Regions from separate parts of the Homo sapiens genome. Here region 1 is linked to region 2. Evidence: promoter capture Hi-C in human tissues and cell types (Jung and others, 2019). All regions are on one chromosome and are shown on one strand. Each heading gives the region's core, a stretch centred on a gene start or on the middle of the fragment in contact. The rest is flanking DNA. Distances are from core to core; before and after follow the strand shown. Region 1 holds the start of CLCF1 (cardiotrophin like cytokine factor 1). Region 2 holds the start of FOSL1 (FOS like 1, AP-1 transcription factor subunit).

The links. Contacts are between HindIII fragments. The study calls those that stand out against the background at their distance.
Region 1: a contact is called between the fragment with the promoter of CLCF1 here and the fragment with the promoter of FOSL1 in region 2, in 1 of the 25 tissues and cell types used here (dorsolateral prefrontal cortex).

What each region holds. Positions count from the first base shown.
Region 1 is chr11:67,371,058-67,376,286 of GRCh38, reverse strand. CLCF1 (cardiotrophin like cytokine factor 1) reads left to right here and starts at 2,689. Exons shown (of 3, transcript NM_013246.3): 1 at 2,689-2,763. The coding sequence starts at 2,748. The region is part of intron 2 of LOC100130987 (a long non-coding RNA gene); the gene reads right to left. RefSeq lists silencers at 2,351-2,400, 2,961-3,300. The HindIII fragment of the contact is 15,975 bases long and covers 1-5,229 here.
Region 2 is chr11:65,899,052-65,904,173 of GRCh38, reverse strand. FOSL1 (FOS like 1, AP-1 transcription factor subunit) reads left to right here and starts at 3,786. Exons shown (of 4, transcript NM_005438.5): 1 at 3,786-3,933. The coding sequence starts at 3,835. RefSeq lists a cis regulatory region at 668-1,048 and silencers at 3,395-3,994, 4,603-4,722, 4,688-4,915. The HindIII fragment of the contact is 4,995 bases long and covers 2,964-5,122 here.

The sequences.
Region 1 (5,229 bases), core at 1,440-3,939, 1.5 Mb before region 2:
GGGGAGGGGAGGGGAGAGGCTTGGCCCCCACTAGGTGAGGGGAGAGGGCAGGGAGGCAAGTCCAAGAGGCAGAGGGAGAACACAACTTTCCCAGCTTTCGGGGTCACTACATTAAGATTCAAAGACAAACTGGGGACTGGGGGGCTGTGTGTAAAGCCAATTGTCCCTGTACCCACCTGGCCTGGGTCCCTGTTTCAGAGCTGCAGCCCTCAGTTCCTGCAAACCAGTGCTTTCTGGCTGCCCCAGGTGGATGTGTGCTGGGGATGGCGTTGTCCACTCCCACCTTCTGCTTCAGTGTCTTCCTCTCCCCGCATCCGCTGCTTCCCCCTCTTCCTCCCAGCTCCCTCCTCCCCTCTTTCTCACTCCCACCCATTTGCCTCTTTGTGTCTCCTCTTTCCTTCCCAGTCTTGCCCCTTCTCTGGTCTCACCCCTCTTCTCTCGCCCCCGCCCCTTTCTTCAGCGCCCCCTCCCCTCCGCTCCCCCGACACTGGGGCTGCTTTCTCCCTGACTCAGCAAGGTGCTTTATAAGGTGCTGAGGGGCTCAGCCAAATCCAAACCACATTGTGCAGACTCCACAAGGAGCGGCTTCGAGGCGGAGGGAGAGGCTGAAGCGGCTCCCCTTCTCCCTCTCCCCTCCTTCTTGGCCCCCTCCCTCTGAAAGGGTAGCAGCTAGGGGGACCTCCTGGCTGGCCTCCGTGCCATGCACCCATGGGCATCTGCCTTCTTGACCTTGGCATGGGCATCAAGAAATCACTGGGTTCATCCATCAGGAATGTCACTGAAACTCCAGAGTCCTGGCTGGTGGGGGCAGGGAGGAGGTGCGGGGGCGGTGGGGGGGGCAGAGGTAGGCCCTGAGCACTTTTCACAAGGGTCCCTCCAGGCAGTTTTCATCAGAGCTGCTACTGAGGTCCCTCAAAGTCCCCTGCCCCCCACCCCAAGCCAGCTCTCCTTTCCCAGCCCTTTTTCTCCTTGTTTAGGAAAAAAAAAAGGAAGAAAGGACAGAGAGAGAGAGAAAAAAAAAAACCAACCCAACAACAAAGTCTGTCCCACTCCAGTGAGGTAATTGAAAACAAACTTCTTCCCCACCCCCCCCACCCCCCCACCTCAGTGCTCGCGGTACAGAGAAGGGAAGAGCTGCCCTGGGACCCAGCACTGGCCATGATCAGGATGCCTGCCCAGGCCACAGGTTGGAGGCGCTGGGGCTGGACTGGCAGAGTGCCCTCCCATTCCAGGGGCACCAGGAAGGAGTGGGAGACAAATCTCTGATGCCACTCCAGGGAGAGGCATCACCTTCCAGGTCTGGCCCACCACTGGCCTCTCCCACTTTGAAACAATAAATAAACAACAACAAAAGCAACTTATTACCCAGTGATTTAATTGGTGGTGTGGCTATAGGGCACCCAAGCCTTGGGGACCACATGACTCTCCCCCAGGAAAATCATGAAGCAGGGCAGTCCCCAGCCCTGGGTTAGAGCTGCCTCCTCTGAGCGTGTTCTCCCCGGCAGCCCTTGGAGAGGGAGGAGGGGACCCCCTCTGGGAGGGTCCAGGCATACCCCCAGGTATCCTGCCCAGCAAATCCCAACCCAGGCCTGCGGGAAGGAGGGGGAGCCCTCACCGCTAAGCCACCCCCACCTCACCACCGGAAAAACCAACAACCCGAAACCCCAAAGGAAGGAGAATGCCAGGGTCTTCATGGGGAAACATTTCACAAATGGGGACGCTCGGGCGGTCCATCGCCTTGAATCGGAGCATTCCCGCTGAGTCACCCAAGAAGCCTGTGGTGTTGAAACTGGTCCGTTGCCTCGTGCTGATTAATGAATTACAAATCCCCCACCCATGTACATTCTCCCTGGTCACTGGAGGAAGAATGAAGAACCTTGTGAACTTGAGGGAAAAAGTCCCGCCAAGTGGCCTCTTCTCGCCTCTGGGCCGGGCAGTGGGCCTGCAGTGCCCTCTTCCTCCCCCGCAGGGGGCATTGTGAGCTGGTTAGTCACCTGCCCCAGCCCCAGCGCCTCGCTTAGCTCTAGCTTTTGGAAATGGGACAAGCGGCGGGACAATAGGCAGGGGGGGCGGTCAGCCCAGACAAAGGGCAGCAGGAAAAACACCATCACTTGCTCCCAGGCCAGCTCGCTGGCATTTGGGAGAATGTGTCATTGCATTTACTCAAGGGGGAGGAGGAGGGAAGGTTAGAGATGAGGAGGCAGAGGTAGGGTGGGAGCAGGGACCTCGCACAGGCAGAGGTAGGTTGGATCAGGGACCCCGCATCGGCAGGGGACAGGGGGCAGGGGGCGGTGTCCCAGGCCAACGCCTGGGGAGAAGCCCACCCGAAGCCGGCGCTGTCCCCCGGCTCCTGGGAGTCCTCAGACGGACTGATGGCCTCCCCGCCCCCTCCCCCAGGAGGCCCAGGGTGGTACCGCCACAGCCTCGCCTCACCTCACCCCCCCTCGGTGCTGTGGGAGGGAGAGGGAGCCCCAGAAGCCCTCCCTTCCCTCCTCCCCCCTCCTACCCCCACCCCGGGGAGGGCCGCTACAATTTGTGGTTACAGCTTTACACGTCAGAAAAAAAAAAAAAAAGTTTGCAGAATGTCCCACACCGAAAAAAAAAAAAAATCCGAAACCGAGCGAAAAAAACCTGCGAGTGGGCCTGGCGGATGGGATTATTAAAGCTTCGCCGGAGCCGCGGCTCGCCCTCCCACTCCGCCAGCCTCCGGGAGAGGAGCCGCACCCGGCCGGCCCGGCCCCAGCCCCATGGACCTCCGAGCAGGTAGGAGCCAGGCGGCCGAGGCCCCGACCCCCGCCCCGCCAAGCAGCCACGAGATCCGGTTCCCGTCCTGCCCTGACCCCCGGGAGCCCCGCGCCGGGGCCGGGCCAGGGAGCTGGGCTCGGGCCGGGGGAGGCACGGCTGGGCGCCCTCGAGAGGGGCCGGGCGGGGACGCGGCATTCCTGGAGTCCGCACGGCGGGGCCAGGAGGTGGCCGGGAGCGGCGGGGAGCCCGGACGATCGCAGACCTGGGGAGGCGGCAACCTGGAGCCCCAGCGAGGCGGGCCGTAGGAGCCGCAGCCCCAGAGCCCCGCGCACCAGTCGGGGCCAGAGAGTCCGAGGCGGGGAGCGAGGCTGCGGGTGGGAGGAGGGGCTGGGAGAGGAAGAGGGAGGGAGGCCGGGGGAGCCCGAGGCCGGGCGGCGGGAGGCGAGGGGAGGCCGACACCTCGGGCCGCGCCGCTCTCCCTCCCCGGCCCGCCGGGAGGGGTAGGAGGGCGGGCGGGAGGAAGGGCGGGCGGCGGAGAGGAGGGCGGAGGGCAGCGCCGAGCCTGGCTGGGCCGGGCCGGACGGGCCGAGCCGCGCCGCGGGACTCGCGGCTTCCTAGCTACGCGCCGCGCGGCCGGAACCCTCCATGGTGCCCACGGCCGGGGAGCCGGCGGCAGGTAGGGGCGGCGGGCGGCGGCCGCGAGTCCCCCGGGCCACCGTGGCCTGGGAGTGATTATTGTTTGGCGGGGGGCTGGCGCAGCCGGGCCGGACCCGGCAGGAAAAAGTCTGTCACTGGCCAGGGAGCGGCGGGAGCAGCCGCTCAGCCCGGGCAGGAGGGGAGTTGACGCGCGGGAAAGGGCAGCGCCGGGCAGAGCCCGGAGCCCGGTGCCCCGGACCCCGCCCCCGCCCCCGCCCCCGCCCCCGCCGCGGGGAAGGAGCGACCGGGCGGGAGCGGGAGGGGGCGGGGCCGGGGGCGCCGAGGCCACACAGGGGGAAGGCGCAGCGCCGGGAGGGGTCCCAGAGCGAGAGGTCACCGCCAGCAGGGAGGGCCAGCTGGCAACCGCCGCCGTGCAGCTTCCCGGCCGAGCCCCTCGAAGGAAACCTTCGAAAGAGTCCCCGGGGCTCGCCAGAGGTCCCCTCATGCTTGCTCTCCCCACCCGCCTTCCTTTCCACAACTCCGTGCTGGGCTTCTGGAGCCCTCCCCACAGACCCTCCCAATCCCAGAGGACCCCTGTTCCCCCAGCTCCCAGCCTGGCCCTCCCCCCGGGGTGTGAGGGGCTACCAGGAGAGGAGGGGAGACGGGCGGGTGGAGGCTAAGCCTTGGAGAGAGGCTAGGGGTGGGGGGCACTGGGCACGCTGCTCTACTGGGTCCTCCTTCTCTGACCCTAACCCAGGGACACCTCTGTGCTTTCACTGACCCCGACTGACCTCCGCCACAGCTCGGGAGCACACGTTGCCCCTCACACCGGACAGGATGCGAGTACATATTCCCCTAACAGACCAGACGCGCTCCTGGCCAGCTCAGACACCCTCGCTGCCCTGGAGCCACACGCTCCACCGGGGAGGAAGCAGAGATGGCAATTGTCACCCGGCAGCCCCAGAAGTGACACTGCTGATGGGTGCAATGGCTCCCTGTCCCCTTCATTCACAGACCCACACTCTTGTCCGTCACACTTCTGCACACCACCCCTGCACGCCACCCCTGCACACCAGCCACTGGCTCACTGACACTTCACATTCCTCCCCACGTCCCACCTCTTGTGCACACCTGGCTCCTGCACTCTCCTCCCCCCCCACGCCCCTCTTGATAACAACACCCTTTCCAATTCACCCACCACTGCCCTGGACTCCTCCTTCACTGCTCCTCCTGCCTCTGGCTCTCAGTGGGCTGCTGGGCTCCCCCCTGGCTCCCCGCTGGCCTCCCTGAGCACACCCATGGCCCTCTTGTGGCACAATCAGGAACCCTCTCACTCCAGCCAAAGCCCAACTCCTGTCTCGCTTGCTTGGTTACTGACTTCATAAGGCAGTGGGGCTGGCCCACCCTCAGCTTCTTCCCCTGGGCCTCAGTGACCTCTGTCATTTAGGCTGGAGGAGAAGGGCACAAAGGGGGATGCTGGAGAGGAGAGGAGAGATGAAGCCCCGTGTGTTTCCTCTAGGAGGAATTGAGCTTGCATAATGTGACCTCCTTGTGCAAGCCCACAGTCACCAGACGAATTGGTGGCAAAGCTAGGTCTCCCAATTCCCAGGCCCATGTGTCCCCACTCACCAAGCTACTTCTCAGTGGCCTGGGGTAAAAGGAACCAAGGAAAAGGCAGAAGGGAGATAAGTAAGAGAGGGGAAAGCAGCAGCCCAGAGGGTGGAAGGAAGATGGGTTTCTGTGGGCCTTTGCCTGGGAAGGTAGGTCAGGACACGCCCCTGGGGCAGTTTCCTACCGTCACAATGCCTGGACCTCACCCACTCCATCCCTAGCCCACTCCTCACCCAC
Region 2 (5,122 bases), core at 2,537-5,036:
GGGCAAATCCATAGCGACAGGAAGCAAATTAGTGGATACCAGGGGATGAGGGAAGGGGGAAATAGGGAGTAATTACTTCATAGGTGTGGGGTGTTTTCTGGAGTGATGAAGTTTTGAAACTAAAGAAAGGTGGTGGTTGTACAACATTGTGAATGTAATAAATGGCATTGAAGTGTACACTTTAAAGTAGTTAATTGTTTGTTACATGAATTTAATCTCAAGTAAAAATGTAAACTTCAAAGGCCAGGTGCGGTGGCTCACACCTGTAATCCTAGCACTTTGTGAGACCGAGGCAGGCAGATTGCTTGAGCCAAAAAAAATTAGCTGGGCGTAGTGGCACGCGCCTGTAGCCCCAGCTACTCGGGAGACTGAGGAGGGAGGATCGCTTCAGCCCAGAAGGTTGAGGCTGCAGTGAGCTGCGATCCTGCCATTGCACTCCAGCCTAGGCATCTAGGCATCAGAGTGAGATCCTATCTCAAACCAAACAAACAAACAAACAAACAAAAACAACATAGACTTCAATTAAAGAGTGAATAGAAACTGATAAACATAAATATCACCTCCAATGCCCTGGCCATGCTGAGAATGCACAGGGTGCCAAGCCTCCTCTCCTTCACTGCAGCCCCAAAAGGCAGGGATTCTCTGGGGCTCAGAGATGGGAAGGGACTGAGCCAGTCTTACAGAGCCACCAAGGCACAGTGGCAGGGTCCCTCAGGCCTCCCTGCCCCCAAACTTCCAGCGATGGCTGTGGCCCCCTGGGGTTCTCTCCTGGCCTCCCTGGGTGGAAGCTGGTGAGGTCAGAGGCCAGGAACGTTTCTGCAGCCACAAGGCGGGGGTTAGTGACTGAGGAGGTTGGAATGTGCTCCCTCTGAAAGGACCTCCTTGTGGCTCCAGTGACGGTTAGAGCAGGAAGAGACTTTCAAAGTCATGTAACACACACACACACACCCCAGACCTGAATCCCTGCTCCCTCAGCTGCCCCAGTGGCCCCAGCATCCACTGCTTGGGGGCGGTGGGGTCAGGTGCAGGGTGATGTTTCTGGAGCAGGCAAGTGAATGCAGTCAAGGCTGACCTGTGTCACCCCTCCCCTGGTTACCTGTGTCACACTTGACCTGTCCAGCTTGGGCTCTGCCAAGAAGTTGAGGTATCAGTGTGTGTGCACATGTGCTGTGTGAGTGCCTTCATGTGTGATCAGTCCCAAAGGCTCTCACCCCTGGGTTGTTTTGTTTTGTTTTGTTTTTTGACGGAGTCTTACTCTGTTGCCCATGCTGGAGTGCAATGGCGCAATCTTGGCTCACTGCAACCTCCGCCTCCCGGGTTCAAGCGATTCTCCTGCCTCAGCCTCCCAAGCAGCTGGGACTACAGGCATGGGCCACCATGCCCAGCTAACTTTTGTATTTTTGGTAAAGACGGGGTTTCTCCATGTTAGTCAGGCTGGTCTCGAAATCCTGACCTCGTGATCCACCTGCCTCAGCCTCCCAAAGTGCTGGGATTACAGGCGTGAGCCACGGCACCCAGCCTATGTGTCAAATTCTTACTATGTGCTGTGCTAAGCATGTGACATTACTTGTGTCCTCCAACAACCCTTGAGATAGTTATCATTATGTCTCCATTTCACAGATAATGAAAGAGGCTCTGAGAGATTGTGTGCCTCACCTAGGTCACACAACTGGTGAGCAGCCTAACCACATTCAAACCCAGACCCCAGAGCTGTCTGACCCCAGCACGGGTGTTCTGTCCACGGATCATACTGCCTCAAAAACACTCTCCTCTCCTTTCTCTCTCTCTTTCTCTCTCTCTCTCTCTCTCTCTCACACACACACACACACACACACACAGAGATGATGATGACAAGAGGGTGACAAGCATTGGGTCGCTCAAAGGCAAAGGAGAGGCACCAGGCTGGTAACCACTTTCTGAGTGCATAACACTTTATAGCTTACAAAGCATTTTCACATCTGTGATCTCACTTGATCCCACAACAGCTCTGTGAGATCAGCAGGGAGGCCCAGTTGAAGGAAGGTGACCTGCCCAGTGTCACACAGACAGAAAATGGTAGCTCTGGGACTAGAACCCCAGGGGCAATCTGGACTTCCTGGCTCTAAGTCCTGAGTGCACCCACAGGCTTCTGGCCTGTGTTCCCAAGGAAAGTAGCCCAGAGGGCAAAGCTAGAGCTGATGAAATGGAAGGACCGATGGAGAAGCAGGAGAGCCCAGCCCTCTCTTGATCTATTTACTTTGAGTCTTGCTCTGTCCCCCAGGCTGGACTGCAGTGGCGCAGTCACAGCTCACCGCAGCCTCAACCTCCCTGGCTTAAGCCATCCTCCCGCCTCAGCCTCCAGAACAGCTGGGACCACAAGGCAGGCGTACCACCATGTCCAGAAAATTTTATAATTTTTTGTAGAGATGGGGTCTCAAATGGTTCTTTCTGCCTTGGCCTTCCAAAGTGCTAGGATTACAAGCATGAGCCACCACACCTGGCCCCAGCCCTCTTTCTGTAGTCGTGTGACAACTGACAGCTCAGTACTCCATCTGGGCCTCAGTTTCCTCATCTATGATGGAAGTAATCAGAGAGAAGCTTTGGGATGGTGCCCAGCACTAACATTCTGGATGTGCGACAAGGTGTCTGTGAAGGTGTAAGGGCTTTGAAAATCTTGGCTGAGCCTGGGCTTGGAGTGCCCACGGCTGTGACTTGGCAACCTGTGCCAGCTACTCACTTAGCGACTTCAAGCAATTCATTTCAGCATCTCCCAGCCTCAGTTTCCCCATCTGTAAAACAGAGATGAGGATGATACCTGCCTCACATTCACTCACCTTTGACATACTCTCCAAACAAGTCTGGTGGCCACAAGCCTCCGAAAGGCACTGACCGTAATGAAGATGGCGTTTATCAGACCTCAGGACACCTGTAGTGGCCCTGAATTAAAACTCGTTATAGCTCCTGAAATTATCCTGAGTAATACTATTATATTGCATTTTATGTGGGGTTAGTTCAAAGCATTACCTTATCGCAAACATTTAAAATATACCACCCAGCCTGGGCAATACGGCGAGACCCAATCCCTACAAAAAACACAAAAATTACCTGGGTGTGGTGACGCGCGCCTGTAGTCCCACTTACTTGGAGGGGGCGCTGAGGCAGGAGAATCCCTTTAGCTCAGGAAGTTGAGCCTGCAGTGCGCCGAGATCGAGCCACTGCACTCCAGCCTGGGTGACAGAGACCCGGTCTCAAAAATATAAAGTAAAATAAAATATGCCACCATTTTTGTAACCCTGGTTTGTCATTTATTCACTTTTCATATACTCGAAGCCTTAAAACAAGGCCAGTGGAAAGACCTCACTCCACGAAGCTTTGGGTGGCGGTTGGCGTGGCTCCTAGAGATGTGATTCTTTCGTGCTATTTTGTGGGAGCAGAAACGGAGGTTAGCCCAGGCCTCGAGAGGGCTGGGGCGGGGCGCGGGCTCTGGCAGGTGCGTCAGTCCGCAGGGGAACCCGGGGCTCCACCTGGGCGCGGCGAGGAAGTTACACCATGTATGGGCAGCTACGTCAGGGGGGCGGGCCCGCAGCCTCCGGGGAACGCCGAGCCGGGCCCATCCCGGTGAAAAGGCTGCAGCCGGACTTGGGGAGGCGTCGCCAAGTTCGGGACCGACGGGCCAAGGCGGCGCGTCTCGGGGGTGGAGCCTGGAGGTGACCGCGCCGCTGCAACGCCCCCACCCCCCGCGGTCGCAGTGGTTCAGCCCGAGAACTTTTCATTCATAAAAAGAAAAGACTCCGCACGGCGCGGGTGAGTCAGAACCCAGCAGCCGTGTACCCCGCAGAGCCGCCAGCCCCGGGCATGTTCCGAGACTTCGGGGAACCCGGCCCGAGCTCCGGGAACGGCGGCGGGTACGGCGGCCCCGCGCAGCCCCCGGCCGCAGCGCAGGCAGCCCAGCAGGTGAGTGGGGCCCGACGCCGGTGGTCCCACGGGAGGACCGCGCGTGGGAGGCCGGGGTCAACTCCCGCACGCTCCGGGACTGGAGCGGGGAACCGGAGTCGGGGCCGGGCTGGGGGCTGGGGCGAGGATCCTGCCCCTCGCCGTCCGGGGCCAGTTGCCCCCACCGCGCAGCGGGCAGCAGAGACCCGCGAACTCCCCTTCTCCCAGCCGCCCCCTTCTCCCTCGCCGTCCGCGTCCGTCCCTCCGTCTCCGTGCCCGCTTTCTCTCCTCCTGCCCACCTCTGACTTCTGCGTCCACCCTGCTTCAGAAGGGGCGTGGGCGCCTAGGGTGGTCGCCTCGAAGGCTAGGAGGGTCTCTCCGCTTCGGGCTGAATTCCTGGGATCTGGAGTCTGGGCTGGGGTGAGGGTCCCCACACGGGAGGGAGGCGGGATCCGTCGGGAGAGCAGCTGGGCCAGGGTGGGAGTCCCGGCCCGGTCTGCGACCCTCCGCGTGTCCGTCCGTCTGTCTGTCCTTCGCCCCTCCGTCGCCAAGTCCCTATCGTTTCTCGGCCTGGGGAGTCCAGGGGGGTCCGGGCAGTGGAACCTGCCAGGTCCCCGGAGACCGGCCCTCGATCCCTTTGCCGAATGCGGCGAATAGAGACCTCGAGGTTCCGGGACGTGCGCGGGGTCAGGCTGCGGGCGACTCTCGCGACCCCACTCTCAGCCCCTAACGGCGCCCGCTGCCCGCCGGGGGGCACCCGGGAGGCTGCAGGTGCCCATTTCCTGTCGAGGGGCTGCGAGCACGTGTCGACAGGGGAGGGAAGGAGGGGCGTCCGTTCCGCCGAGTCACGGCGGCCGAGTCACGGCGGCTGAGTCACCCGGGGCGTCCCTCCCTTCCTGGCCTGGAGCGGCCCGGGCCCGGGAGTGGGAGATGCCGCCGGCGGTGCCTCGGACCCGGAACTGGGGTCACTGGGACGCCGGGCCCGCAGCGCTTGGGCTCGGGCTACCGCTGTCGGGACTTGCCTGGGCTTGTGGGCGCTTCCCGGACGATTGGGCGCCCACACCCAGGGCCCAGCGGCAGAGCTAGAACCCACTTCTCCCAGAACACTGAGCCCCATCCCAACCCACTCCTCAGATAGCTGGCTGATAGAATGGGAACAGGGACGTTGTGCTGGGCGCTTGCTACATCATTTACCATATTTCACGGAATC